Regions from separate parts of the Homo sapiens genome. Here regions 2, 3, 4, 5 and 6 are each linked to region 1. Evidence: promoter capture Hi-C in 16 types of primary human blood cells and fetal thymus (Javierre and others, 2016). All regions are on one chromosome and are shown on one strand. Each heading gives the region's core, a stretch centred on a gene start or on the middle of the fragment in contact. The rest is flanking DNA. Distances are from core to core; before and after follow the strand shown. Region 1 holds the start of KIF26A (kinesin family member 26A). Region 2 has its middle 73 kb from the start of C14orf180. Region 3 has its middle 100 kb from the start of C14orf180. Region 4 overlaps PPP1R13B (protein phosphatase 1 regulatory subunit 13B). Region 5 has its middle 130 kb from the start of C14orf180. Region 6 has its middle 170 kb from the start of LINC02691.

Region 1 (4,308 bases), core at 1,030-3,529:
GCCCGGGACCCCGGTGTGCTGAGTGCCAGCGCCAGCTAGGGAAGGGGGAGCCCCCAGCTGGCACTCAAGAGGAGTTTCCAGTGTCAAAGGCCAAGCTCAGGGGAGGCTGGAGATGGGTGGTCTGGGGCTCCCCTGAAGACCTGTCTGCCAGAAGAGACCAAGACACCCCCCTAGATGAGGAACCTAGAATCCACCAGGGACTAGTATCACCTGCAGCCCTCTCCACTAGGACCCCTGGCCTGCCCGTGACCAGGAGCCCCCTCCCCTCCACGAGTCCATGCCAGGACCATGGCCCCAGGGCCAGGCAGCATCAGCAGTCCAAGCCCACTCCAAGAATGAGGAGACCAGCTCAATCTTAATGCCCCTCCTGTCTCTGGCGTGTTTCCCCTAATGGGGCAGCAAGATGGGCCTTTAGCTCTGGCTGGCCCTCTCCAGGGGGCCCTCAAGGGTCTCCTGCTACCTTTTAAACTAGATACAGGCCACTGGGGCACAGAGTATGGCCAAGGCTGCAGCCTGTCCAGAGCAGAGGACAGGGCGGGTCCAGCCCCACCCCAGGACAGGCCCACAGGCGCCTGGCCTGAGCCAGAGAGAGGCTACAGCAATCCTATCCCTCGCCGAGACTCCAGAGAGCCCGGAGACGGTGCCCAGGACAGAAACCAGACTGGTACCCTGCCCCACCCTGCCCTGCCCCAGACAGGGCAGTCAGGGTCTCAGCTCACTCCAACCCCCACAGCCCTTAGAGAACTATATTTAGATTCAATGGGGATTATGCGGACTTCCCAGGAACTCTTTCATAAAGGCTGAAGGCCCGGCAGCGGGCTTCCTCTGGAGACCCCCACCCGCCCCCAGCCTTTGCAAACTTCCAGCATGCATTGTTCCTGGAACAATGGTCCCTGCTCCCTCCAAAGCCGGCAGGCCCACTGGCTGGAAATCCAGGAGAACCCCTCCCCTGCAAGCACCTGCCCCTGGGGCTGGAGCCTGGGGAACCCAGAGGGCCCCGACTCAATTCCCCATGGGCGGCCACTGCCTCAGTCTATCCCAGGAGGTATGGGACAACAGTTCTTATCCTTGAGGCTGGGAGAGGAGTAGGCAGGGACCCCCCAGCTGCTGTGGCCCACCCTTTCACCTGCCAGGCCCCCCGGCCCCAGGTATGTAATTTCCAGACACCTGGCTGGGGGCCCAGGTGCCCCAAGGGCCACAATGCACCAAATAACCTCTCCCTGCTGGTAGGGCTGGAGCTGTCCCGCCCTGGGTGGAGTCCCTGCCATCCGCTCTCTCCCCTCCTCCTCCCACACAAACCTGCGTTCCAGCTGTGGGACATCTGGGCTGGGGGAGGAACGCCAGCCCAGGCCCCTCCCATCCGAGGCAGCAGGGCCCCTCGGGCTGAGCTCCCTAGCTCACACATGGTGTTACAGACCGGGAAACTGAGGCCCGCAGAAGGGAAGTCCTGGCTGATAACTCTTTGTGGAAACAGCAGCAGGGAAGGAGTGGAACCCTGCTTCCCTCCAAGCCCCAAGTTCTACCCAAGTTCGGCGTGGCCCTGCTCGGAGGGGTCGGCCTAAGGAAGTGTCACTTACCCGGAGGGTGGTCCCGGGCCCGCTGACCAGCTTCCACGCCTGTCGCTTGAGCTCCACCAGCTTCGTGTGGCAGTGGCGGCACCAGCCGCCTCCGCCGGCCGAGTGGCCCTGCTCTGGGCCGGCCCCGGCGCCTTCGGGAGCAGGGCGGCTGCCGCATGGGTCCTGGTCGGGCCCGGCGGGTAGCCTCTTTCGGGGGGACACCTCCAGCAGCGGCGGCGGCTCGCGGGCCGGGCCGCCCTCGGCCACCTGCAGGGTGTGGGGGCGGAAGCGGACAGTGAGCCTGGGACGTCCGTCGGATCCAGACCCCTGCGCGCCCTGCCCCAGCGTGACGCTCTTGCCAAAGTTAGGAGCCCTGGGCACGACCCTGGCGCTCACCCACTCCCTCCATCCCCGGAGGTCCCGCCTGCGGGTCCGCTACCCTCAGCAGGAGGCCCGGCCCCCAGGGATCCAGCGCACACCGCGAGTATCTTCGCCGTCCCGGGCCCCCGCCGCCCGCCTCCCTCTCCAGGCCGGGCCGCGCGTACCGCGGGCTGCGCAGCGCACAGAGGGACGCCGCGGCCGACCATGGCCGGGGCGCGGGAAGAGCCCGGCAGGCGCTCCCGGCCACGCTGGCTCTCCGGGGGCGCCGCGGCTACGTGATCCGGCCCCGAGGCGCCCCCATGGCCCGGCCCAGCCGCTCGGAAGTTCGCAGAGCCTGCGAGTGTCGCGAGGAGCGCGGTGGCTCCGGTGGGCGCGCTCGGGAGGCGAGGGCGGGGCCGGGGAAGGGCGGGGCTCGGGCTCCCGGGGCGGGCGGCGAGGGGCGGGAGCCCAGAGAGTGCCCCGCCCTTGCCCAGTGCTGGGCGGCGCGTGGGGGGGGTAGGGTCCCCGCTTCCCCACGCGGCCCCGCGCACTCCAAGGACCCCAACCTGTTAGGTGAGTCCCTGCCCCGGGGAGGGGCGCTGGGGGCGGCGGCGAGGATCTAGTTGCGCGCGCGCATGCGCCTCCCGCCCCTCTCCCGGGACACCAGGGCTGCGCGTCTCCCAGGAGGCGCCGACGCCCCTCCCTCTACAGGCGGGAAAACTGAGGCTGCGGAGGGGACGCTCTTGCCCAAGGCCCACGGCGAGGTGGGCCGAGGAAGGGGCGGGACCCCGGCCCCGAGACTCCCAGGCGCCTTTCCAGCAAGCCCAGCGTACTCTGCGTGTCGCGGGCCACTTTAGGTCTAACTGTCGCGCGTGGGTTAGTGTCGCCGCGGTGTGCGCCTCGAGCCGGGCAGCGACCGCGCCGGCGTATCTGTGCCTCGGCGCGTCTGCGAACGGCACGTGTCTTTACAGCCGCGCGTGTGCCCGCAAGTGGGTGTGCGCGCCGTGCCGCCCGGGAAGCGGGAGGTCCTGCGGGCGTGCGCCGGACCTGTTGTCAGCAGGCCTGGCAGATGGGAACTCAGCTCCGGAATTAATTGCTTGTTTGTCTCCGGCTGGGAGGCCGCCCCCCCGCCCTTCCCTGGCGACCAGTTGCTCTGTGCCTAGCCGGGCCCCAAATGTCGCCGGCATCCGCGGCCGCAGGCAGCTCCGGGCCAGGCTCCGGGTCAGCCCCAAAGCCCGGGTCAAGCCAGGCGGGCGCGGCGGGCGGGCTCCCCGTGACGCGAGTGCCCCCTGCCGGCCGCTGCGCACACGGCTCCGAGACTGGGGAGACAGCGCCGCGCGTCCCAGGCCTGAGGCGCACTCGGAAACTCCGAAGGTCGTGACCCGGCGGAGACCAGGACACGCGGCTGCCGGCACATACGGTGAGGCCTTCGCAGAGACTCAGTACGTCAAAGTGACCCTTTCCGTTTTGCCCACCCCCTTTTACTTGGATAAGCCTCCCCGCCCACGCACGCACTCCCCAGAAAGTGGGGTGGGTGATCCCCTCCCGGCTTTCCGGGTCGTTGATGACCTTAGGGGTTCGAAAACGCAAGGGGGTATGGAATAAAGTGGCAGGGGCTCTCCACTCTTTCTGAGATCCGTAAGCCTGCAGTCGCTTTCCACCCAGCCTGGGGGGCCGGAAGCGCTTCCCCTACCCGTCTCTTCGCAGCCTGGAGAATGAAAACGGGCGTCAGCCCACATCTGGATCTGGGTACTGAGGACAACACCCAAACCCCACCCCGCACTGCCGGCAGACAGCACCGCCTCCCGCCGCTCCACTGCTCCGGGACACACACTCTCTATATCCCGTCCCCCCACCCACACACGCAACACAGAAGCACGCAGCGGTCGGGAGCACCGGTCCTGCGCCCCTGGCCAGCCACACCCGCAACTTCAGCGCTTCTACCGCCGCGGCGCTTCGGGAAGCACAAGCTCACATCCCATATCCGCAGAACACGGGGTGCACAAGGCTGGAGTCACCTCGGGGGCTCACGATCAGTCAGGGGCCCCGACCCCCTACTTCGCCCATCCTAGCAAGGCGCAAGGTGAGCCCGAGAATCCCTGCGCTGCGCTCTCCGCCCTAGCCACAGCCTCCGGGTGGGTCCGGTTGGGACACAGCCTTGAAGGCAGAGGGAGACTTGGACAACGCTAATGGGGGAAAGTGCGGCAGCGAGTCCCAGCCCGGGCTGCGGGACGCGGCTCCGGACCTGCCGTCTCCTTCCCGGCGCAGCACCCCCGGCCGCGCGAGCCGCGCGGCAAAGTAACGGGACGGCGCCTACGCCGCCCGCCCCCCTCCCGACAGCCCTCACCTTGCCTCGTCGCCGCAGGAGGTGGCTGGTGAAGCCCAGGATGAT
Region 2 (4,308 bases), core at 712-3,211, 370 kb before region 1:
TGGTTTATCTTAAATTAATTTTCATGTATGGTGTGAGGAAGGGGTTGGGGTTTATTTCCCCCATAAATGTATCCAGTTGCTCCAACATCATTTGTCAAAGAGACTTTCTTTCTTTATTGAATTTCCTTGCAGCCTTTGCTAAAAATCGATGGGAAATGTATTTATGGGTCTAGTTCTTGTCTCTACATTTTCTTCCATTATCTAAGTGTCTATTTCTTCGCCAGTATCTCACTGCCCTGATTACTGGGCTTTGCAGCATCCTGAAATCAGATCGTATTAGTCCAACGGTGCTCTTTATCCAGGATCATGTTTCTTTTCCAGGTCTTTGCACTTGCAAATGCATTTTAGAATCAATCAATCAATTTCCGTCAAAAAGCTCATTGGAATTATTATGAAGATCACATTCGGTCTACTGATCATTTTGGGGTGGCTGAACAACATCCTAGCCATAGAGAGTCTGCCCATCCATGAACTTGGTATACTTCTCCATTCATTCAGCTCTTCTTTAATTTCTCTCAGCAATACTGTTGCAGTTTAGGGGATAGATCTGGACCTGGTGCTGTCAGAGTTAGGGAATGATATGGGCAGAGCATTTGACTGTAATCTGGGAAGCAAGGACTGGTGCCCACCTGCAGGCCTGTGGGGACTCTGGGCAGCAAGGCAGCCTCTCAGCTTCTGCCCAGGCAGCAGCCACAGCTCACTGTGATGCCAGGTATGCACACTTCCAGGGGGCCCATTGTCCTTCCACCCACCTTCTAGTCCACACTCAGGAACGTTCTAAGCCATCCCTGTCGGGTGGGGCAGGAGAGGGGAGAATCCAGACCTCACAGGAGCCCCAAACCCTGATATCTCCAAAGTGCCCTTTTGCCAGCCCTGGTCTCTGCTTTTGTGTCCTGGGTTTGGCTACATGTTGACAAAGATGCTCACTCGGAAAGTTGAGCAAGACCAGCTCTCATCTGTTGTTATGGTTACGAGGCAGGAAAAACAATTTCCTGTGAGTATCTTCTGATCACTCCTGTCGGATGCTGGAGCAGATTAGGCCAGGCACCATGGTGATGGCTTCTCTGGTTCTGTGGGGGACCATGTGACATTCATTTTGACCTCACACATGGGGTTGCAGTCTGCCGGCTCAGTCAGGGGAGATAGACGGATCTCATTAAGAACCATCAGAGGATCACTTTGCTGGTTTTATTGCAGTTGCAAAATTGCCTTTACCTCACTCTCTCCCAAATGCCAGATTACAAACATCACAAGAGATCAAGAAGCCTGGGTGGGCCCAGGAACGCACTGAGTGCACGCCAGTGGGCAGTGACCAATCACCAAACCCAAGGGAGTCCACATGGCGAGCTGTCTCCTTGCTACATGGGGCCTGCCTACTCACAGCTGGGAGCCCCTCCAGCACCAGGAGGCCCAGGTCTCCCCGAAAAGAGAACACACTCTCTGCAGGGGCAACTTCCACCTCCCCACCGACCCAGGCCCCCCAGTTGCAGAGCTGCAGAATGGCAGAATTGGGCCCCCCAGTTACAGAGCTCCCCAGAGCTGCAGAACGGCAGAGGGAGGCAGCAGGGAGACAGACCCATAAGTCTGGTCTTGGAGAAAGGGGTGGCTGCAGCCAGGTGGAGCAGCAGGCTGGGCCATTTCCTGGTCACAGAATCTTCTATCCCAGCCCCATGGCAACCTGGGGGCAATCTCCCCCTCCGCTCTCTCCTGAGGGAGAATCTCCCCCTCTGCTTGTTCTCCAGGCAGGGCCTGGGCTGCCCACGGTGGAGGAGAGGTTCACCCTCAGCCAGCCAAGTCTCTGCCCTTCTCTTCCAGATCCAAGCGCCCAGTGTGGCTTGCAGTCCTTACCTGTCTTCTCCTCTTGCTTTGGATGAAGCTTCAGGGTCCTGCCAGTGAGGAAATGGCCAAACACTGAGAAGGTGACCCCGGCCAGCTGACACCCCACGGTGGCTGCTCTGCGATGGGCAGCTGCTCCAAACCTGGGCCTGGGGCAGGGGGCAGGAGGAAGGGGGTCTGCAATGTGGTGGTTGCCTTGCTGGAAGCTTCTAGGACAAGAGGTCTCCTTAATGGCAGACAAGTGGGGAGAGTGTCTGGAGGTGCCTGGCGCCAAGATGTGGGGTGAGGTCGCCAGGGAGGGGTGCAGGGGAGGGGCTGCACACTGCTCCTTGGGTGGGACAGAGCAGGGACAGGGAACGAGGAGGCTGAACTTGGGGGCCAGGGAGGCCAGAGGAGGCTGGGTGGGGTAAGGGTGCAGGCAGGTAGGGAGTGTGTGTCTGAGAGGAGGGCGGCGTTGCTGGGGGAGCCAACATGCCAGGAGGAGCAGGGAGGCAGGAGAGGAGGAGGGGTGGTAGTAGGTGGGAGACCCCAGTGGGTTTCTATTTAGGAACTCATTTCCTGCTTTGTGATGTCCTCAGGTTTTAAGTTGCCTGACCCTGCAGGTGGAAAGGCTGACAGTGGCAGGTGGGGGTCCCCAAGCTGCCCCCAGAACCAAAGGTCAGGCAAAGGCTGCAGGTGGACCTCAGCTCTGAGGCTCACCTCCCTCTTGGCCCCTCAGGGTGACACCTTCTAGGAGGTCCCAGCGGGGCAGTCATCCCAAATCCAGGCCTGTTGCTTCCTGCCTCCTTCCCCAGCCTCACTCAGGGGCCAGCCAGCCAAGGTCACCTTGGCTATGATAGGTCAGTGTGGTCCCAGGTGGGGCCCTGACACCTTGTCTGAAAGACATGGAGGAGGAGGGGCCCCAGCCCCAGAGACTCAGCTCTCTGCACCCACAGACTCTCCCCAGCCCCCCAGCCCAGCAGGTCAAGGACCCCAGGCGGGGGCTCTCGGCAGCCCCTGCAGTGAGTCTCCCTCCCACTGTCAGTGTGCAGAGGGTCCCACGTGCTCCGGGACCGCGATTACATTTTCACAAAGAAATTGGAGAAACTACAGCAAACACAGCTCAGCTGTGGCGCTGAAGGGATTCCCTTCCTCTTTCTTCTTTTTGTCCTCTGCGAGTTCAGTTACTCCTGCCCTGGTCATGTGCAGCCCCGAGTCTGGCACTGGAGACGGGTTTGCTGTTTTGAGGGCGGAGGACGTGGCCCAGAAATGGTAGTAGAAGGGGAGCTCTTGATGTGGACAGCTCCCCTGCTGGGTGTCCAGCCTGCCCAGTTGCCCTGCCCGGAGGGAGGAACAGAGAGGAAGATGCCAAGGCTGGCTGGAGCAGGCGCCAGGTGTGCCTGCAGCAGCTCTGGGGGTGGGGAGCAACCATGCGGGGGGTGCAGGTGCCGCAGTCACCTTCCAGGTGGCCCAGTGGCTACCCGTCTTCACTATCCCGGGACGTGCCAGGCCTCCTGGCACTTTCCCCGGTGGTGAAGCAGAACTTCTGAGGCAGCCCTCTGCTATGGCTGCCCCTATTGTGGCCGTCAAGCTCAGCCTGGCTGCAGGCGGGGGCCGGCGTCTCCCGGGTCCTATCTCCTGGGTTGTGTTGTGAATCCGCAGACTGAGGGGCTGTGTGGTGTGGGTGGCGTGTGGTTTGCTGAGGAGCCTTGCTTTGGAGGTCTGGCCTTATTAGAAAACGTTACTTTATTATCTCACATTTCCAGAGGCCAGGAATTCAGAACAAGTCTCATGGCTTTAAAATCTAGATGTCAGCAAGGCTGGTTCCCTCTGGAGGCTCAAAGGGAGAATCTCGTCCCTGTCTCTCCAGGCTTCGGGGGCTCCAGGTGGCCCTGGTGTGGCTGCACCCCTCCATCTCTGCCTCTGTCTGCGCGGTCTCCTCCTCTGCGTTGCCAAATCTGCCCCTGCTTCCTCTTAAAAGGATTCCCGTGATTGCATGCAGGGTCCACCCCATCCAAGAGCCACTCCCTAGCTCCAGTCCTTGACTTAATCACACCGGCAGGGGCCATGTGAAGTCACACATTCACAGGCCCCAGCCACCAGGATGTGAATCTTTGAGATGTCAGCCTATCAGCTATTACACTAGGGTGGCGTGACCAACTCATCCAGTCTGCCTGGGGCCTTCCCGGCATTGGCATTCAAAGTCCCATGCCCTGGGAAACCCCTCAGTCCCAAGCAAAGGGATGGGGAGCCGCCCTCCTCTGTGGCAGCCTCACCTTAGCAGCTCATGTCTCCAGGGCACCTGCAGCACCAGGATGAAGCCTGACTCTCAACAGTCAGTCAGGCAACCCTGGGAGGTAATGCGTGCATGGAGAAGCCTGTGCTGTGCCAGCTGCCGGCCACCCCTCCCAGCTTTCTCAGCCCTTCCTGCTGAATGAGTCTCACTCTCTGTGTGGGGGCCCAGGGGGCCGGTGACACCTAGAGGGTGGCAGG
Region 3 (4,308 bases), core at 839-3,338, 340 kb before region 1:
TCTGCTCTCGAATCCTGTTTTCTGTTGTTTAAGATGTTTATCAAGACAATACGTGCACAGCTGAACATCGACCCTTATCAGGAGATTTTGATTTCGCTCTTTGCCTTGTGATCTTTGCTTTACCCTTTGCCTCGTGATCTTTATTGGCCTCAGAAGCATGTGATCTTTGTTCTCCTTTTTGCCCTTTGATGCATGTGATCTTTGTTACCTACTCCCTGTTCGTACACCCCCTCCCCTTTGAAAGTCCTTAATAAAAACCTTTGCAGCTCAGGAGGACATCATGGTCCTACCGATATGTGATGTCACCCCCAGAGGCCCAGCTGTAAAATTCCTCTCTTTGTACTCTTTCTTTTTATTTCTCAGCCAGCCAAAACGTAGGGAAAATAGAAAGAACCTACGTTGAAATATTGGGGGTGGGTTCCCCTGATAGCCTCCCCATGGGGAGAGAGGCAAACAGCCAGGAAGAGCAAATCCAGAAGCTTTCAGATTGTGCTGCTGAGGGCTGTGGAGGGCTGTGCCTGGTGGTACGGTGGGGACTGGACGGGTGGGCTTGCTCTGTAGGGGTGGACCCAGGACCCGGGGCAGCAGGGGCGGTGCTCAGAGCCTGCCCAGCTTGTTGCTGGCAGTGGGAGTGGCCGATGCAGCACTGGCTGCGGGGGGCTTGGCAGGTCTGGAAAGAGAAAGGTGCCCACTTGGCTGGGGGTTGAGAGGAGGCTCCGGTCCGCTCCAGCCAAGGTGTGGACCTGGAGCTCTCGCCAGAGCTAGAAAAGGTGATCTCCATGGGTATTGGAGCAAGGACGTCAGGGCCACCCAGACATGTGGGGGAGCCATGGGTAGAGAGTGAGCTTCCTGGGGAGTGGGAAGCCCAGCCAGGAAAGGCAGCCTCAAGCTTTGGGAAACATCAGAATGGCAACCTTATGCCATGGAGTGGCCTCTGAGCCACAGAGAAAGCGGAGGAGAGTAGAGATACAGGCATTTAGGGAGAAGAGGGATCTTTTTGTTTCTGCCTCCAAAGAAAAGAAAAAGAAAAATGAAAGAAGAACAACAAGAAATAGAGCAGAAAAGAATTCAAGCATGGATGGGTTTGGGTGGGGCTGGGAAATGGAGGGCTCCAAGCAGTAGAGCAGAGGGTCCAGCACAGGGAGGTGAGGTAGGAGGGGCTGGAAAGAAAGCCCAGATGGGCCCAGCCTGAATCACTATGGCAGGGGTCCTCAGGGGTTACCCAGGAAACTACCACAAATCTCGAGTCGCCATCAGTAGTGGTGACGGGGGAGTGGGTGGAAAAGCCGGAGAAGCCACCAGCTGGTGAAAAGGCCCTGGGTCCCCCCGCCACCTTCCAAATTTCACCTTACTCCTCCTGTTGCCAACCTCACTGGAGCCATCTAGGGGACAGGGCCTGGGGGTCCTTCCTGGCTTCTCCCCCTCAATGCAGGAAAGAACTTGAAATTGGGGAAATGTGGAGTGGACATTGGACCGCCCATCCAGCCCGAAAGACACAGGAGAATGAAGACAGTCCCTGAAGCAGAGAATGCCACCTGCCTGGGGGTCAGCAGGGCACGCTTTGCTCCGGAAACACCTTCTTGACCAACACCATGCCCTGAGAGATGCCAGAATGGGGTCCTGTAAGTCTCCCGAACATGCTGATGGTGTGGTGCTGATTAAAACAATGTTCTCATGTGCAGGAGAAGCAGGCCGAAGGGTGCTGGGTGAAGGGCATGGACCTGGTAACATTCTCATAGACCATGTTTATTTCCTGTAAAAATAAGACCAGATCCCACTGGTGACAAGGGCTGTGACCAGGACTGAGTTCTTTAAGGTTGCAGGACTGAGGTCTCTGTGTTCTTGCTGCTGTCAGCTTAGGGCCGTTCCCACTTCTAGAGGCTGTTGTGTTATTTGGTGAGTGACCTCGCAGCTCCACGTCTCGGCCAGTGCTGGAAGGCTGAGTCCTCTTGCTCTCCAGGGGGCCCTCCCTCTGCTCCTGGCAGGTGTCTGCTCACCCCTTAGAGCAGTGTTTGATGTCAGGCCCTTGAAGTCTTTGGTGTTCTCGGTGCCCTTGGGACCCTGAACAGACAGAGTGACCCTGTGGTGGAAAATCCTTGCTGCCCCACGTCAGGTGTGTTCCTCAGACTGCAGGCCCGCATGCACCCTGCCCGTGTGCAGTGCCTCCTCATTCCTGTCTGCTGGAGACGGCTTCTGGGGGCCTCTTCTGTGGCTCAGGTGCTTGCTGAAGGTGGACAGCGCTTCGAATTTAAACTGCACAACTCAAGTGCTGTTCCTGGGAGCATCTCAGGGTTTGGTCCAGGTGCCTCGTGACCTCTGCAGGCTCTGTTACTGCTTTTCCAGAAACACTCTCTTTGAGCTGCGTCTGTGCATATTAAAGGAAATCCATCAGCATCATTTTCTTTAATTTTCAGTTCCTATTAGCAGTATTGACCAGAGGGTTCCCCAGGGCAGGGGGCAGGTGGGGTGAGGGCAGCTCCCCTGGCTCAGCCCGTCCATCTCTCCTGCCTGACTGGTGTTTAGATTAGAGTTCAATTCCATTTTAGTCCACTTCCAATTCAATTCCATTCAGTTCAAATCCGAATTCCATTCCATTCCAATCCATTTTCATTCAGTCTAACTCAATTTCATTTCAGTCCAGTTCAAGTCCACATTTAGTTTCTATTTTGCTTAATACAGGTTCACAGACCTTCCACTGTGCCCCAGCCTCACGCTGGGCACCGAGGGAGGTGGGAGCTGGCAGCAGCCTGGGCAGAGGGACCCACTGCGGAGATGTGGGGGAACAGGCCTCACCCAGAAATGGCCACCGGATGAAGCAGGAGCGTGTGGGGGCCACAGAACAAGAAGTCCATCCCTGTTCCTTAATTGAGCCACCCACGTTAGCGTGACCCATGCTCAGGCTGGTGCTCTTGCCTGGACCCATCATGGTGGTTTTCCCAAGCACACCCATGGCTGCTGTCCTGTGGGTCAAAGGCATGGCTGGGCCAGTGGGAAACATGGATTAAACACATTGAGCATTTCACTGCAGTCCTTCCTAGAGTCTCCTGGGCACTGGTGGGCATTGACAACTTCTAAAAAGGGACAAGTGTAGTTTCAGGGCCTCAGAGGGCAGAACCTGGCTGGAAGCCAGCTGGGCCGGTGGGCAGAGCAGAGCTGCTGTCTCCCAGTGTGGAAGGAGAGTGAGTGTGTCAGGATTGCCTGGCTCTGGGGCACTTCCTGGGTTGGAGTTTCAGCTTTCAGGAGCCCCAAATGAGCCCCTCATTTCAAGGCCGCCAGGGGCAAGCTTTCTGCCTCTCAGGACAAAACTGACAAGGAATTGGCCACGTCCTGCCTGTTCAACCATGTGTGAGTGACGAGGGCTTGTGCAGACACACATCTGCTCCCTGGACTGCCATGATGGAGGCAGAGGAGCATCTGCATCTGCAGGAGCTCTGCCAGTGGCCCCCAGCACCCCTCGAGCTGGGGGGAAATGGAGTCCGGCTCCACGGCTGCTATCCTGGGATGCAGTGGCCAGGCCTGCTGGGATCCTATGAAGAGGCAAGCGGAGAAGCCAGATCCCCCTGTGTTCTGTCCCCGTGGGGGCTAACGGCCACACTGCCCCAAAGTTGCATCTGGGACTCTTCGGAATAGGAGTGGTTTGCATGAGAAATTTGAGGATGCAAACTCAATTCATCATTATTTATGAACCAGCACAGAGGAGTTTATTACTCTGATCACTCACTAATCATTCCTTATAAATGCGGGGACCAACAAAATCCCACAGAATCAATAAAGTGGTAACTTCCCGGTCTAAATCACGGCACCTAGGATTCTTGAGTAAACCTTTCGGTAATTTACAAAGGCTGTTGAATTTTATAGTAAGAGTTTTTCAAACCAAGCTGGATTCTAAACAATAATGACTTTTTAATGTGGTTCTGTGATTACGTTGTCACCGTGAAATACGGGGGTCTTTGACTGCATCCAAAATGAGCCTGGTGTGAATTACTTGCAGGCACAGACCAGCACGGCCCCAGGTAAAGCAATCTTCATAAATTACTCTCCAATCCGGGTGGCCTGGCAGGCGAGGCCTGATGCCGATGTTTGCAACTCAATTTTCAATGGACAATTTGTAAACAAGCTCTTCCTTTTGTTCGGGGCAGTGGCCACGGCCGCCGCCTCTGAGTGGAGGGGCTGAGCTCCCCCCAGGCTTTCACACGCCGGCTGAGACTTTGTGTGAGTCCAGGACAGTGGCTGCTCGTCCACGGAGCTGCTTAAAGGGAAGTGAATGAAAGGAACTGACGCTGGGTGCCAGCCACGCGCCAGGTGCAC
Region 4 (4,308 bases), core at 456-2,955, 330 kb after region 1:
TCTTGCTAATGGATTGTTTGTGGAGTATGAGAGAGAAGGGAGTTGAGCCAATCCTTTATTTTATTCTCCTTTTTCTGTGTGGATGACAGCAACTCCCAGGTGTGTTTTTCAGTCTTTGAGAGGCTAATTGAGGAAAGTGAGATGAAGCATTTAGGGTGATGGCTTAGACTTAGTTTTCCTTACAGCTCTAATGTTTCTGAGATTTTAAATTGGTGAACTGAGTTGCAATCAGGGCCAGAAGGGACCTTAGCATCAATTCTCATTTTGGGGTGCGTGGCCTGCTGGAAAGCTAAAGGGGTCTTCCTGGTGTTCACCCACCCTCACCCCAACTGATCCTTTCTGTGGCTTTTATGAGCTATTTACTCATAACCTACCAAGTGAGTTATTGCAAGTTACTAAAATTTAGTATAGCTTTTATCACCTTATTTCTCTTCAGTTATTTTTTGTTATCCCTGAGCTCCTTTTCCACCAGAAAGAAGTAGTAGATGGTATAGGTGAGCTGGGGGATCTAATACTTTACCTGATTGGGTTGGGCCAGAAAAGCCTGAGAGCCATTTTCCTGCAAATATGTGTTTCATATTATCTGCTGAGTTCTTGCCAAGAAACCAAGACCCAGAGATAGACTAAGGAGCAGCTTCCCCAGCCAGTTGCAGCAGTCAATGCCATAGCTAAGGATAGAACTTGGGCTTCCTATTCCAGGGTTCTTTGTACCATGTAAGTCAAGTTTCTGAATTCCTTTTCTAGAAGTTTTATATATCCTACTTTTTAAAAACAGCTTCATTGTGTTATAATTTATGTGCCGTAAAGTTTACCTATTTTAAGTGAACATTCAGTGATCTTTAGTAAATTTACATAGTTGTACAGCCATCACCACAATCTAATTTTAGAACATTACTGTCATACCAAAACAAAGTTTGTGCCTATTTGCCATCACTCCTCATTCCCATCCCCAGTCCTAGGCAACCACACATCTTTCTTTCTCTATGGATTTGACTGTTTTGGGCATTTCATATAAATGGAATCATATAACATGTGGTCTTTTGTGTCTGGCCTCTTTCACTTAGCTTAGTATTTTCAAAGTTCATCCATGTTGTAGCATGTGTCAATACTTTGTTACTTTTATTGCTGAATAATATTCCATTGTATGATATTCCATAATTATCTGTTAATGGAGATTTTGGTTTTGTCTTGTCTTTCCTTTTCTCTCTCCTTCCTTCCTTCCTTCCTTCTTTCCTTCCTTTTTTTTGAGACAGCATCTCGCTCTGTCACTCAAGCTGGAGTGCAGTGGCATGATCACAGTTCACTGCAGCTTTGACCTCCTGAGCTCAAGCAATCCTCACACCTAGGCTTCCTGAGTAGCTGGGACTATAGACGTGTGCCACCATGCCCAGCTACTTTTTGAATTTTTTGTAGAGGCGGGGTTTTGTTATGTTTCCCAGGCTGGTCTTGAACTCTTGAGCTCAAGTAATCTGCCACCGTTGGCCTCCCAAAGTTCTAGGATTACAGGCATGAGCCACCGTTCCTGGCCTTGTTTCTTCTTTTTGGCTACTATGAACAGTGCAGCTATGAACATTTGCATACAAGACTTTGCGTGGACATATATTTTTATTTCCCCAGGGTAGGTACCTAGGAGTGGAATTGCTGGGGGCCATATGGCAAATCTGTGTTTAAAATTTTTTAGGCCGGGCATAGTGGCTCACGCCTGTAATCCCAGCACTTTGAGAGGCCGAGGTGGGCAGATCACGTGAGCTCAGGAGTTCGAGACCAGCCTGGCCAATATGGTGAAACCCCATCTCTACTGAAAATAAAAAAATTAGCCAGGCGTGATAGCGTGCGCCTATAATCCCAGCTACTTGGGAGGCTGAAGCAGGAGAATCACTTGAACCTGGGAGGCGGAGGTTGCAGTGAGCTGAGATTGAGCCACTGCACTCCAGCTGGACTGTTATGCAAAATAGCTGTACCATTTTACATCTTCATCACCAATATATGAAGGTTTCAGTTTCTCCACATCCTTGTCAATGCTTGTGATTGTCTGTCTCTTTGATTATAGGATAATTCCTGTTTAGATTTTTTTTTTTCCTTAGAGATGGGATCTCACTCTATCACCCAGGCTGTAGTATAGTGGTGTGATCATAGCTCACTGCAGCACTGAACTCCTGGGCTTATGTGATCCTCTACCTCAGTGTCCCGAGTAGGTGGGACTACAGACACATACCATGATGCCCAGCTAGTTGTTTATTCATTTATTTAGTTTTTAGTAGAGATGGGGTCTCACCATGTTGCCCACGTTGGTCTCAAATTCCTGGGCCTAAGCGATCCTCCTGCCTCTGCCTCCCTCAGTGTTGAGATTACAGGCTTGAGTCACCATGCCCAGCTAATTCCTGTTTTTTAATAGCTTATACATCCTCAATTTGTGTTTTGCTTTGGTTTCCTTGGATTGCCAAGAAAATAGTTTAAATACCAAGTTTGTAAAAATGTTAAAATATCTGTGTGGTTTACTTAAATTAGTGATTATTTGATTTCAGTTGATTTTCTTAGTTCAGATGTTCCTGAAAGCAAGGGTAAGATGACGTCTTAAGCTACTTAATAATGGTTGTCAGTTTTCTGCCTGCCTCATCCTGCATTTCTTGAGCACCACTGTGTGTCCAGGCACTGAGCTGGAGAACACAAGTATTGTCCTTATGGTCTAGTATGATATTTTCCAACTTTTTTGAATGAAAAAAAAAATGGAGCAAGTTAAGACACACTTAGATGATTTCAAGACCAGGTAATGAGTCACAGATACTGTTCCAGTAGAGGATGTAGTCAAGAAAACTATTGATAATTTAATGTAAGAAAGTTGTACTATAAATAGCCACAGTCTGTTACAGCAGGGGAGAAGAGGAGGCTTTATCTGAGGTTGGGTCAAGATGGGCAGACATTGGTTCCAGTCTTTCTCAGGTCAGGTCAGGATGGGTAGAGAGTACTGTCAGTGAGCAGAAAGGGGCAGGATTTGTTGTGTGATTCATCAGGGCAGAGAAGCAGTTTGAGGAAAGGCATAAGTAGGGCATCTTGTCATTACATGCTATATTTGTTACAGCACACAATTAGAAATTTTTGTTTTCCTAACTGTAGCTAACCAAATCTTTTATTTATTTGTTTATTAATTAATTATTTATTTATTTATTTATTTTTGAGACGGAGTCTCGCTCTGTTGCCCAGGCTGGAGTGCAGTGGTGCTATCTCGGCTCCCTGCAAGCTCCACCTCCCGGGTTCACAGCATTCTCCTGCCTCAGCCTCCCGAGTAGCTGGGACTACAGGTGCCCACCACCATGTCCGGCTAATTTTTTGTATTTTTAATAGAGATGGGGTTTCACTGTGTTAGCCAGGATGGTCTTGATCTCCTGTCCTAGTGATCCGCCTGCCTTGGCCTCCCAAAGTGCTGGGATTACAGGTGTGAGCCACCGCACCCGGCCCCAAATCTTTTATTTTTAACATATTAATCATTTAGGAAGGATAAACGTATTAACTTGTTTTCTTTTTTCATTTAGTTTCCTTAATCCTACTGAATTTCATCTGTTTTGTACATACTATTAAAGAAAAAAATATGCTACCCATTAAATTGTGTCATGCCATCGTGAGGTGTACTATGATTTCAAAGATGTTATTAAAATACAAGCAAGTGCATCTAGAATCAATACACTATATTTGTTTTGGAGCTTCTTTAGTCATGTTTAAGCTGAAGAAATCTTACTAGAATAACATTAGCAGTCACACGGCTTTTCAGCTTCAGTTTTCGGTGATGCTTTAGGGTCATCCAGGTCAAAACCAGCTTAATTTCTCTAGAAAGCTTTAAAGTCTGCCATGATTATAATGAAATTAGCTTGAATAATAGAGATTAGGGAAAATGAATTTTGCTAAAATTAGGAAAGACAGGGTTATTGCGAGTGATAAAATGGAACACAAGAAATTGAAATAATGTTTAGTGACTTTTGGATAAGTTATTTGGGTGTTCTTCGCTTTTAAAAATATCCAGATTTACAACCTGTCATCGTGCCTCTCCCCCTCCCTCATCATATTGAACTTACTCATGAGCTGAAGAGTCTTGGTAATTCAGAAGGTACCCCAAAATGCTGCCATACCATCCTTCATTCTGACAATGCATTCATAAAGAATTCCGCGTTTCAGAGCAAGTAAGCACAAGCTGTGCCTCTGTGAGTGCCTAAGGGTACTGCTTTACGCGTGCTATATTCATGAGGCAATGATTGTGCAAATGTTTTGCTAGCTCAGAGCGTTGAGAGCAAACCGTGGGATGCCTTAGTGGGTAGA
Region 5 (4,308 bases), core at 947-3,446, 310 kb before region 1:
TAGCCTTCAAATCAGATAAATAAGTCCTCCAACTTTGTTCTTCTTTTGCAAAGTTATTTTCTAGGTCCTTCATTTATTTTCCATATAAAATGTGAAGTTCAATAATTGATTTTCATTTTAAAAATCCTTCTGGAATTTTGATTGAGATTCCATTGATCTATAACTCAACTTGGGAGAATTGATAGCTTAACAACTTCAAGTCTTCCTATCCATGAACATGGTACATGTTCCATTTAGTTAGGTCTTCTTTAATTTCTCTCAGCAATGTTTTGTAGTTTAAAATGTACAAGTCTTACACATGTTTTATTGGTTTATGGCTAACAATTTTATATTTGTTAATGGTATTGGAAATGATAACATTTTTAAAATTTCAATTTCTGATTGTTATATGTAAAAATACCATTAGTTTATGTATATTAATCTAGAACTCTGCCACTTTGCTAACTCACTTACTAGTTCTAGTGGCTTTTATTTCATGGATTCCATGGGCTGATCTACACAGATGATAAGGAAAGTGTTACTCTTTCCAATCTAGATGATTTATTTATTTTCCTTGCCTTATTTCATGAGATAGAACCTCCAGTACAATGTTTAATAAAAGTGGTGAGAGTAGATATCTTTACCTTGTTCTCAATTTTAGGAAGATATAGATTTTTGTTGTTGTTGTTGCTGTTTGTGTAGACGGCCTTTATTCTATGAGGACTTTTCATTTTTATCCGTGGTTTTCTGAGGGTTTTTAATCATGACTCAATGTTGGGTTTTATTAAGTGCTTTTTCTATTGAGATGATCATGCGCATTTTTCTTTTTAGTCCGCTAATAAGATAAAGTTCATTTATTGATTTTTGAATGTTAAATCAACTTTGTCTTCCTGAGGTAAACTACACTTTGTCATGATTTAGATAAACTAGATTTGCTAAAATTTTGGTAAGAATATTTTCATCATTGTTCATGAGGGATATTGGTCTCTGTTGTCGTTTCTTATATCTGTTTGATTTAGTAGGAAAGTAACATTCTCTTCATCGAATAAAAAAAGTACCTCTTCATTTTCTATTGTCTGGAAGGATTTGTGTAGAATTGTTATTTTTTCCTCAAATATTGTTAGACTTCACCATGAAAACCACCTGGGCCTATAGTTTGCTTTGTCATTGGGATTTTAATTAAAAACTTGATTTAGTTAATAGATATTCATGTTATCTATTTCTTCTTGAGTGAACTTTGATAATTTATGGCTTCTAAGGAATTAGCTTATTTCATCTAAGTTATCAAATTTATTAGAAAAAAGTGGCTCACAATAGTCCATTGTTTCCTTATAATGACTGCAGAATATTTGGTGACACCCACCCTTTCATTCCTGATATTGGTAATTTGTGCCTTTTTACCTTTTTCTTTATCAACTGACTAGAAGTTTAACAATTTAATTGATTGTTTAAAATGATTAGCTTTTACTTTCTTGGATTTTTCTTATAATTTTTACTTTTCTCTTTCATTGATTTCCGTTCTTTTTATTATTTTCTTTTTCAGCTTACATTGTGTCTAATCTGCTCTTCTCTTTTCAGTTTCTTAAGTGAAAATGTAAGTCACTGATTTGAGACCTTTCTTTTTTGTTATAACATAGGTTCTTAGTGCTTAAATTTGCCTCCAAGCATACATTAGCTGCATCTCCCTGATTTTGGTATGTTGTGTTTTCATTTTCAGCTCAAATAACTTTCCAATTTCTCTTTTGATTTCTTATTTGAGAGATATGGTTTGGCTCTGTGTCCCCACCCAAATCTCGCCTTGAATTGCAGTTTCCATAGTCTCCAGGTGTCAAGGGTGGGACCAGGTGGAGGTAATTTAATTATGGGGGTGGTTCCCCCCATGGTGTTCTTTTGATAATAAGTGAGTCTCATGCAATCTGACGTTTTTTTGGTGTGTTTTATTTTTTCAACAATTAATGTCCGCCCTTTAATCTCCCCAAGAGGGCTGGGCCCAGGCAGAACCCATCCCAGCACCCCCACCTACACTCAGAGACCAGCCCTGGGGGCCCAGGATCACCCAGCCGTTGGAGGGCCACACACAGGGTCCATTCCTTTCTTGCAGTCCCCCAGCTAGACCCTCTCCCCCAGTCCGGCGCTGTGGGCCCCGGAGCCTAGGTTCCTTCTGCCCTGGAGGTTGGGGAAGTCCTGGATCAGCAAGGGTGGGCTCGAGCATCTTCTCCACTGTGTGCGTGTGTTGGGGGCATATGTAGATGTGTAATGAATGTGCGTGTGTACACGTAGATAAGGGTGAATTCTGCATGCGCTGGCTTCCTGAGATCTGCACAGGAAGTGGCTCTGTGACCCCCGCCTGGCCCGAAGGTATTATTTTTTCTGGGCCAGGAAGGCCCCACCGAGAATCAGGGCTATGGCTGCCACAGCCACATCTCCAGCCACCAGCAGGGGGTTCAAGTTCTCGCAGGAACAGGGACCTCGACCCCTAGGCCCCCGCTGGCAGCCTCGTCCTCCTCTGCCCCGTCCCCAGGACCCTTGGGCTCCGGGGTTGCATCAGGACTGCTGGGCACCATGGGGGCTGTGGGGGCTGGCTTCAGGTTGCCGTGGTTGTTGAGAAGGACGGGGTTTGCCTTGGCCGGGGTCTTCTTGGCAGGCGCCATGGTGGGGGCTGCCAGTGGCTGCTGCTTCTCTGCCGGGGCTTCCTTCTTCCAGGGCTCGGTCAAGGGGGATTTCCCATCGGCTGCCGGGGGTACCTTGGCCTCGGTGGTGGCCTGGGTCACCTTGGTGTCGGGCTTGGGGCTGCTGGCCGATTTCCCTCTGGACTCCGTGGTGGGCAGGGTGTATGGGACAGGCAGGTGGCTGCAGCAGAGGGGCTCAGGACAGCTCGTCACCCCTGGGCATTCTATGGACACGTCCTCCGGCCTCGCCTGGGTTGCGTGCTCCTCTGCAGGACGGCGGCGGCTGCAGACGCAGAGTAGAGCTCGGAAGTTTCCGCAATCTGATGGTTTTACAAGGATCTGGCATTTCTCCTGCTGACACTCATTCTCTCTCCTGCCGCCCTGTGAAGAGGTGTCTTCCACCGTGACTGTAAGTTTCCTGAGGCCTCCCCAACCGTACAAAACTGTGAGTCAATTAAACCTCTTCTCTTTATAAATTACCCAGTCACGGGTATTTCTTCATAGCAGCGTGAGAAAGGACTAACACATCAAGTCATGGGTTATTTAGAGGTGTGTGCTGTTCAGTTGCCAAATATTTTGAATTTCTAGATATCTTTCTGTTGTTGATTTCTAATTTAATTCCATTTTGGCTGAGAATTTGATATGAATCTAGTCCATTTGTTGAGACTTGTTTTATGGCCTAGAATATGGTCAATCTTGGTAAATGTTCTGTGTGTCCTTGAAAAGATTGTGTATTCTGCTGTTATTGGGTGGAGGACTCTATAAATGTCTGTTAGGTCAAGGTGATTGATGGTGTTGTTCAAGCCTCCTTTTTTTTTGCCCATTTTCTATCTACATTTTTCTAATAATTACTGAGAATAGGGAGTTGACACCTCTAATTCTCAATTTATTTATTTCTACTTGCAGGGTGATCAGTTTTTGCTCCATGTATTTTGAATATATGTTATTATGTGGATACAATTTAGGATTATTATGCCCTCTTGATACATTGACCCTCTGTTATGAAATTACCTATCACTGATATTATTTGCCAGGAAATTTACTTATATTGTGATTAATATAGTCATTCCAGCTTTCTTTTGATCAGTATTAGCATGGTGCATTTTTTCCTAGCCTTTTACACTTAATCTGTTTATAGTTTTACAGTTAAAGTGGGTTTCTGGTAGTTAGCATATAGTTGCTTTTGCCTTTTTGTCCCAATAAGACAATCTTTGCCTTTCAAGTATAGTATTTAGTTTTAATGTGATTATCGATGTGATGGGTTTAAATCTTCCACTTTGTTGTTTTCTACTTGCTTTTTTTCCCTCATCTGCTTTTTTTTCTTTCCTCTTTTTCCAACTTCTTTTGGATTAACTGAGTATTTATTATGATTTAGTTTTATCTTCTTTGTGGGCTCATTGGCTATACATCATTTTTGTGTGTGGGTGCTTTAGGTTTTATAGGATACATCTTTAGCTTATGTTCTACCTATAAGTAATATTACACCACTTCATGTGTAGCATAAAATTCCTATAACAGTAATAATCTAGTTCCCTTGTCCCAGGGTCTGTGTTCTTGAATTATACATTTTCTTTCTATACATGTGATAAGCCCCACAATGTTGTTATCACATTTCCTTTAGTCAATTATTTATGTGTTAAAGAACTTGACTATATTTTAT
Region 6 (4,308 bases), core at 851-3,350, 260 kb before region 1:
CCGGGGAGAAGGGGTGGCGGGAGCAGCGCAGGGAAGATGTCTTACTCTGTTTTGTGTTGCTATAAGGGAATATCTGAGCTTGGATAATTTATAAAGACAACAGGTTTATTTGGCTCACAGTTCTGCAAGCTGTACAGAATTATGTCACTGGCATCTGCTCGGCTTCCGGTGAGGGCCTCAGGTTGCTTCCACTCATGATGGAAGGTGGAAGGGGAACAAGAATGTCACATGATGGGAGAGGAAGCAAGAGAGATAGGAGGAGGTGCCATGCTCTTTTTAACACCAGCTCTTGTGTGAATTAAGAGTGAGAACTCACTCACTACCATGGGGACAGCCCCAAGCCATTCATGAGGGATCCACCCCCATAACCCAAACATCTCCCACCAGGCCCCACCTCCAACATTGGGGATCACATTTCAGGTGAGATTTTATTCAAACCATATCAGAAGGCGCCCCGGCATCAGGATTTGCCATGACAGTGAAAATTGAAGCTACCACGCCCTAAGACCCAGGTTCCAGAACTCACAAGACACCCCTTCTGCCTCATTGGATTGGCCAAAGAAGCCATGAGGCCAGCCTAGAGTCAGGTGGAGGGAAGTGGACTTCCTGGGTGAGTGGCTGCACCCACAGGGAGAGGAGGAGCTGTCCGGATTTATTTGTCACAGGCCACCAAAGCTCTGCCGCCTGTCTCCACTGACACACTCCACACTACTTAACGCTCCACGGCCTAAGTCTCTCAGTTGTTTTGACCTAGTCCTTCACAGCCTGTTCATTTGCCTTTTGGTGGACTAAAATTCATTCTCTATTTATTTATTTAAAAGGAACTTCAGTAGACAAGAGTTCCTCCATTTGTGAATATTTTCAGAAGCGCTTTTTTATGATTCAGCATGAGTAACAGCTTTATTCTGTTCTAAAATTTTACTCTGATATAAAATTCTTGGTTCATACTTTCTTTTCCTGGAGATTTTGCAGGCATTATTTCCCTCTTCTCTAAGATGAGGTGTTGCCGTAGAAAATCTGAAGCCAGCTTGGACTTCTCTTCTCATGTCAGGGCCTTCATATTTTTGCCTCGGTGCCAAACAAATTCTTCGTGTTTGACCCCCAAGTCTCAGTGCTGATCAAGTGCACCAATTTTTGTAGAAACATGATATACCCTCTTAATCCATAGATTTCATCTTTTTTAGTTTCACCACATTTTCTTGAATTATTTGAATTATTTTTCTTTTATATTTGATTTTCTCCTGCAAGGCCACCAATTATGTGTGTGTTGTGTCGGCATTTTGTGTTTTCCTTTTCTATCCTTTCCTCTAAACCATCGCAACTCTTTATTCTTTTCTGGTGAATTTTTTTCACTTTTTCCAAGCTTGACTCCACATCCCTGGCAATGGTTTTAGGAGAATCTATTCTCTTTTTCTTTGATTCTAGTGTGGCCTTCATTTTGTGATTTTTAAAATTCTGCTTCTTTTCTTGAGCTCTGCCTGCCTATTTTTGAAATCTCCTATCATCTTTTTGTTTCTTATTGAAGTCTGTCTTGGCTTTTGTTTTACGTGAAAGACATTTTCATTTAGATCGTTAAGTTTCTGATTGTTAAGAAGGTTTCCATCATCTTCCCCAATGCGAGGATTTTTTGTGTCTTTGCTTTTTACCTTTTCTATTATTTTCTTCCTTTTTCTTGTAATGTTTTCAGTGGACACTATTTTCATTCCTTTCTGTCATTGTTTATTTGTGCATATAAAGTGAGTTCTTCCCGAAACAACTGTCTGCAGTGTGTGGGAGGGCAGTCCTGGGGCGGGGAGCTTCCCTGGCTGGCTGTGCAGCCCCGCAGCCTGGCCTCCGCCTCGCCCTGGAGCAGCGAGGTCACTCGGCAAGGCCTTCACACTCTCAGGGGCTCAGAGTTGTGGGTGCCTCCTGTTTTCCATGAGGATAGAATTCCCATCTCTGTTTCTCATCCTCGGTGACAAAAAGAGAGACAACTTTACTAGAGGTTCACTTTAACAAGTAGCGGACACTTTTTGCTTGGTCGTTTTGTGTGCATGTGTGTTTGTTTCATTTTGTTTGCTACAACAAAAGCAACAACTAAAGAAATAAATACCCTTAATTTCATCACTCTGGAGATCTTTCACAACATTGACGACTCAGACGTCGTCGGTCTTCTCTCCCGGCCTCAGCTGCGGTCAGACTCCAGGTGAGCTGCACCTGGCCGTCTCATTTACGCGGCCTCTCTGGCATTGGATAAGAACTCTATGGCCAACTTACCCAAGAGGTGGTCTGCAATATCTTTGAATACATTAAGACCTGGTGGTCTTATAGAGAAATCTGTAATGATTCATTCACTCGTTGCTACAGACCAAATGTTTCCTATGTGGAAGCTCTGACCCCAATGCGATGGTATTTGCAAGTGAGGCCCCTGGGAGCTGATGAGGCTTAGAGGAGGTCATGAGGGCCCGTGACAGAACATCCTCTCTCTGCTATGAGAGGACACAGCAAGAAGGAGGCTGTCCGGGGACCAGGAAGCAGCCCTCTCTGGAGCCAACCCTGCTGCCACCTTCACCTTGGACTCCCAGCCTCCAGAAATGTGAGGAATGAATGTCCACTGTTAAGCTGCCCCATCTGTGTTGTTTTGTTGTAGTGGCCTGGATGGACTAAGACATTCATTCAATCATTAATTTATTCAAAGATATTGCAGACCACCTTGTGGGTAAGTTGGCCATAGAGTTCCTATCCGATGCCAGAGAAGCAGTGTAATTGAGACGGCCAGGTGCAGCTCACCTGGAGCCTGACCGCAGCTGAGGCAGGGAGAGAAGACAGGCAATGAGCGGGCCAGCGAAGGAAGCTTTCTGTTTCTTTAATGCAGATGAACCAGCGAGGAGAGAAAGGGCCAGGGCAAGGCACTGCTGAGCCGGGCGGGCTGCTGCTCCGTGCTCACTGGGGAATGTTGTTCAGGTGAGTCAGGGCCTCACGCCATGGAGGACATTTACGCAATCCCACCTGACAATGGCTCCCGAAGGAAGAGACAGGTGCACAGCGAGTACTGCAATTCAGAAATTCACGGAGCAGCAATTCTGAAAAGCAGCGGGGAGAGCAGGGGTCAGAGCAGGGCCAAGGACAGCAGCCGGGACACAGGTTTTTTTGGGATCTCTGGACTGGCAGCACGCCAGGCCACAGAACCCCTGTGTGGACAGTCTGTGCCACCCCCGGCCTCCTCATTTCTGAAGATGAGCTCTCCCCGGCACCCGGGACGCCCACACCCAGGGTCACTGCCAAACAGCACCACCGTCTGAATCTCAGGACCTTGCCCTGGATGCCGGCTCACTCCCTCACACACGTCCTGTGGACTTCACTCTAAAACGCTCCCAGAAGCTGGCCGCTGTGTCCACCTCCACCACGGACCCCAGATGCAGCCCTCCTCCTGTCGCTGGGCAGACCTGCGGCCAGGGTGTCCTCGCTGGACGTGCACTGCCCGTCCTGTTTCAGCTGCTGTCCCCTCAGCAGCCAAAGGGGCCCTGGCAGTGAGATCAAGGTACTTCCCGCCCCTTCCTCCCAAAACTCCCCACTCAGATCTACAGCAAAACCCAAGTTCTTCAGTGCCTCGGAAGACCCTTGGTCCTACCAGGTCACCACCTATCCCAAGATAGATTCCAGATGACCTGGTGGGTGGACTAACGCATTTTCAAGGGCAAGGTTGATTACACTTGGTTTTTGTTTTGTTTTCTTTAGAGACAAGGTCTCGCTTTGTCACGCAGGCTGGAGTACAGTGGTGTGATCACAGCTCACCAGAGGGAGCAGCCTCACACTCCCAGGCTCAAGTGATTCTTTTACCTCAGCTTCCCAAAGTGCTGGGATTACAGGTGTGAGCCACCGTGGCAGACCGCTTGTAGTTTTTGTTTATTCTGTTTTAAGAGCTGCTGTAGAACCACACCTACCCCAGCCCCTCCTCTGTTTGCTGTGACACCTCAATCCTTGCACCTGAAATCTGCGATGTGGGACATCTCGTGATGTGGCTGGTCACAAGACACCCTTCCTCTTAGTGGGTTTCCAGGGAGCTGGCCTGGGCAGGGCAGCGGGGAGGAAGGCACACTGGAAGAGGCATCTCAGGGCAGGCCAGTGTCCCTGATCACCTCCGTGGGGTTTCAGGGTCTTTTCAGTCTCCTCAGTCTCCTAAACAACCACTCAGATTTCTTTTCCTATAACCTCTATAGACCCCATTCCCACCCCTACCCTCTCCCTGACCCTGGCCTGAAATGCTGAGACATTTTTTGCTTGATAATCACAGACTCCAAGTTCCTAACATAATTCCCGAACCAACAA

Evidence for each region. The method cuts DNA at HindIII sites, captures the fragments that hold promoters and counts their contacts. A CHiCAGO score of 5 or more calls a contact.
Region 2: a fragment that was not itself captured here is called in contact with the fragment with the promoter of KIF26A in region 1 in 8 of 17 cell types (non-activated CD4 T cells, total CD8 T cells, naive CD4 T cells and 5 more); the score reaches 10.0 in non-activated CD4 T cells.
Region 3: a contact is called between a fragment that was not itself captured here and the fragment with the promoter of KIF26A in region 1, in 1 of 17 cell types (naive CD4 T cells). The highest score is 6.0, in naive CD4 T cells.
Region 4: a fragment that was not itself captured here is called in contact with the fragment with the promoter of KIF26A in region 1 in 1 of 17 cell types (megakaryocytes); the score reaches 5.6 in megakaryocytes.
Region 5: a contact is called between a fragment that was not itself captured here and the fragment with the promoter of KIF26A in region 1, in 2 of 17 cell types (naive CD8 T cells and non-activated CD4 T cells). The highest score is 5.6, in naive CD8 T cells.
Region 6: a fragment that was not itself captured here is called in contact with the fragment with the promoter of KIF26A in region 1 in 5 of 17 cell types (naive CD4 T cells, non-activated CD4 T cells, endothelial precursors and 2 more); the score reaches 8.5 in naive CD4 T cells.

What each region holds. Positions count from the first base shown.
Region 1 is chr14:104,136,558-104,140,865 of GRCh38, reverse strand. It overlaps KIF26A (kinesin family member 26A), which reads right to left and starts at 2,279. Exons shown (of 15, transcript NM_015656.2): 1 at 2,102-2,279; 2 at 1,578-1,823. The coding sequence starts at 2,143. KIF26A-DT (KIF26A divergent transcript) reads left to right here and starts at 2,237. Exons shown (of 3, transcript NR_158217.1): 1 at 2,237-3,336; 2 at 3,624-3,999. RefSeq lists a silencer at 3,111-3,280 and enhancers at 2,977-3,688, 3,689-4,308. The HindIII fragment of the contact is 14,398 bases long and covers 1-4,308 here.
Region 2 is chr14:104,504,316-104,508,623 of GRCh38, reverse strand. No RefSeq gene overlaps it. Among named protein-coding and RNA genes, the nearest start is that of C14orf180, 73 kb to the left of the region's middle. The HindIII fragment of the contact is 166 bases long and covers 1,879-2,044 here.
Region 3 is chr14:104,477,861-104,482,168 of GRCh38, reverse strand. No RefSeq gene overlaps it. Among named protein-coding and RNA genes, the nearest start is that of C14orf180, 100 kb to the left of the region's middle. The HindIII fragment of the contact is 2,394 bases long and covers 892-3,285 here.
Region 4 is chr14:103,802,509-103,806,816 of GRCh38, reverse strand. All of the region lies in intron 1 of PPP1R13B (protein phosphatase 1 regulatory subunit 13B), which reads left to right. Among named protein-coding and RNA genes, the nearest start is that of PPP1R13B, 43 kb to the left of the region's middle. The HindIII fragment of the contact is 4,253 bases long and covers 1-3,831 here.
Region 5 is chr14:104,449,466-104,453,773 of GRCh38, reverse strand. It overlaps the pseudogene CEND1P1. Among named protein-coding and RNA genes, the nearest start is that of C14orf180, 130 kb to the left of the region's middle. The HindIII fragment of the contact is 8,232 bases long and covers 1-4,308 here.
Region 6 is chr14:104,395,150-104,399,457 of GRCh38, reverse strand. No RefSeq gene overlaps it. Among named protein-coding and RNA genes, the nearest start is that of LINC02691, 170 kb to the right of the region's middle. The HindIII fragment of the contact is 1,470 bases long and covers 1,366-2,835 here.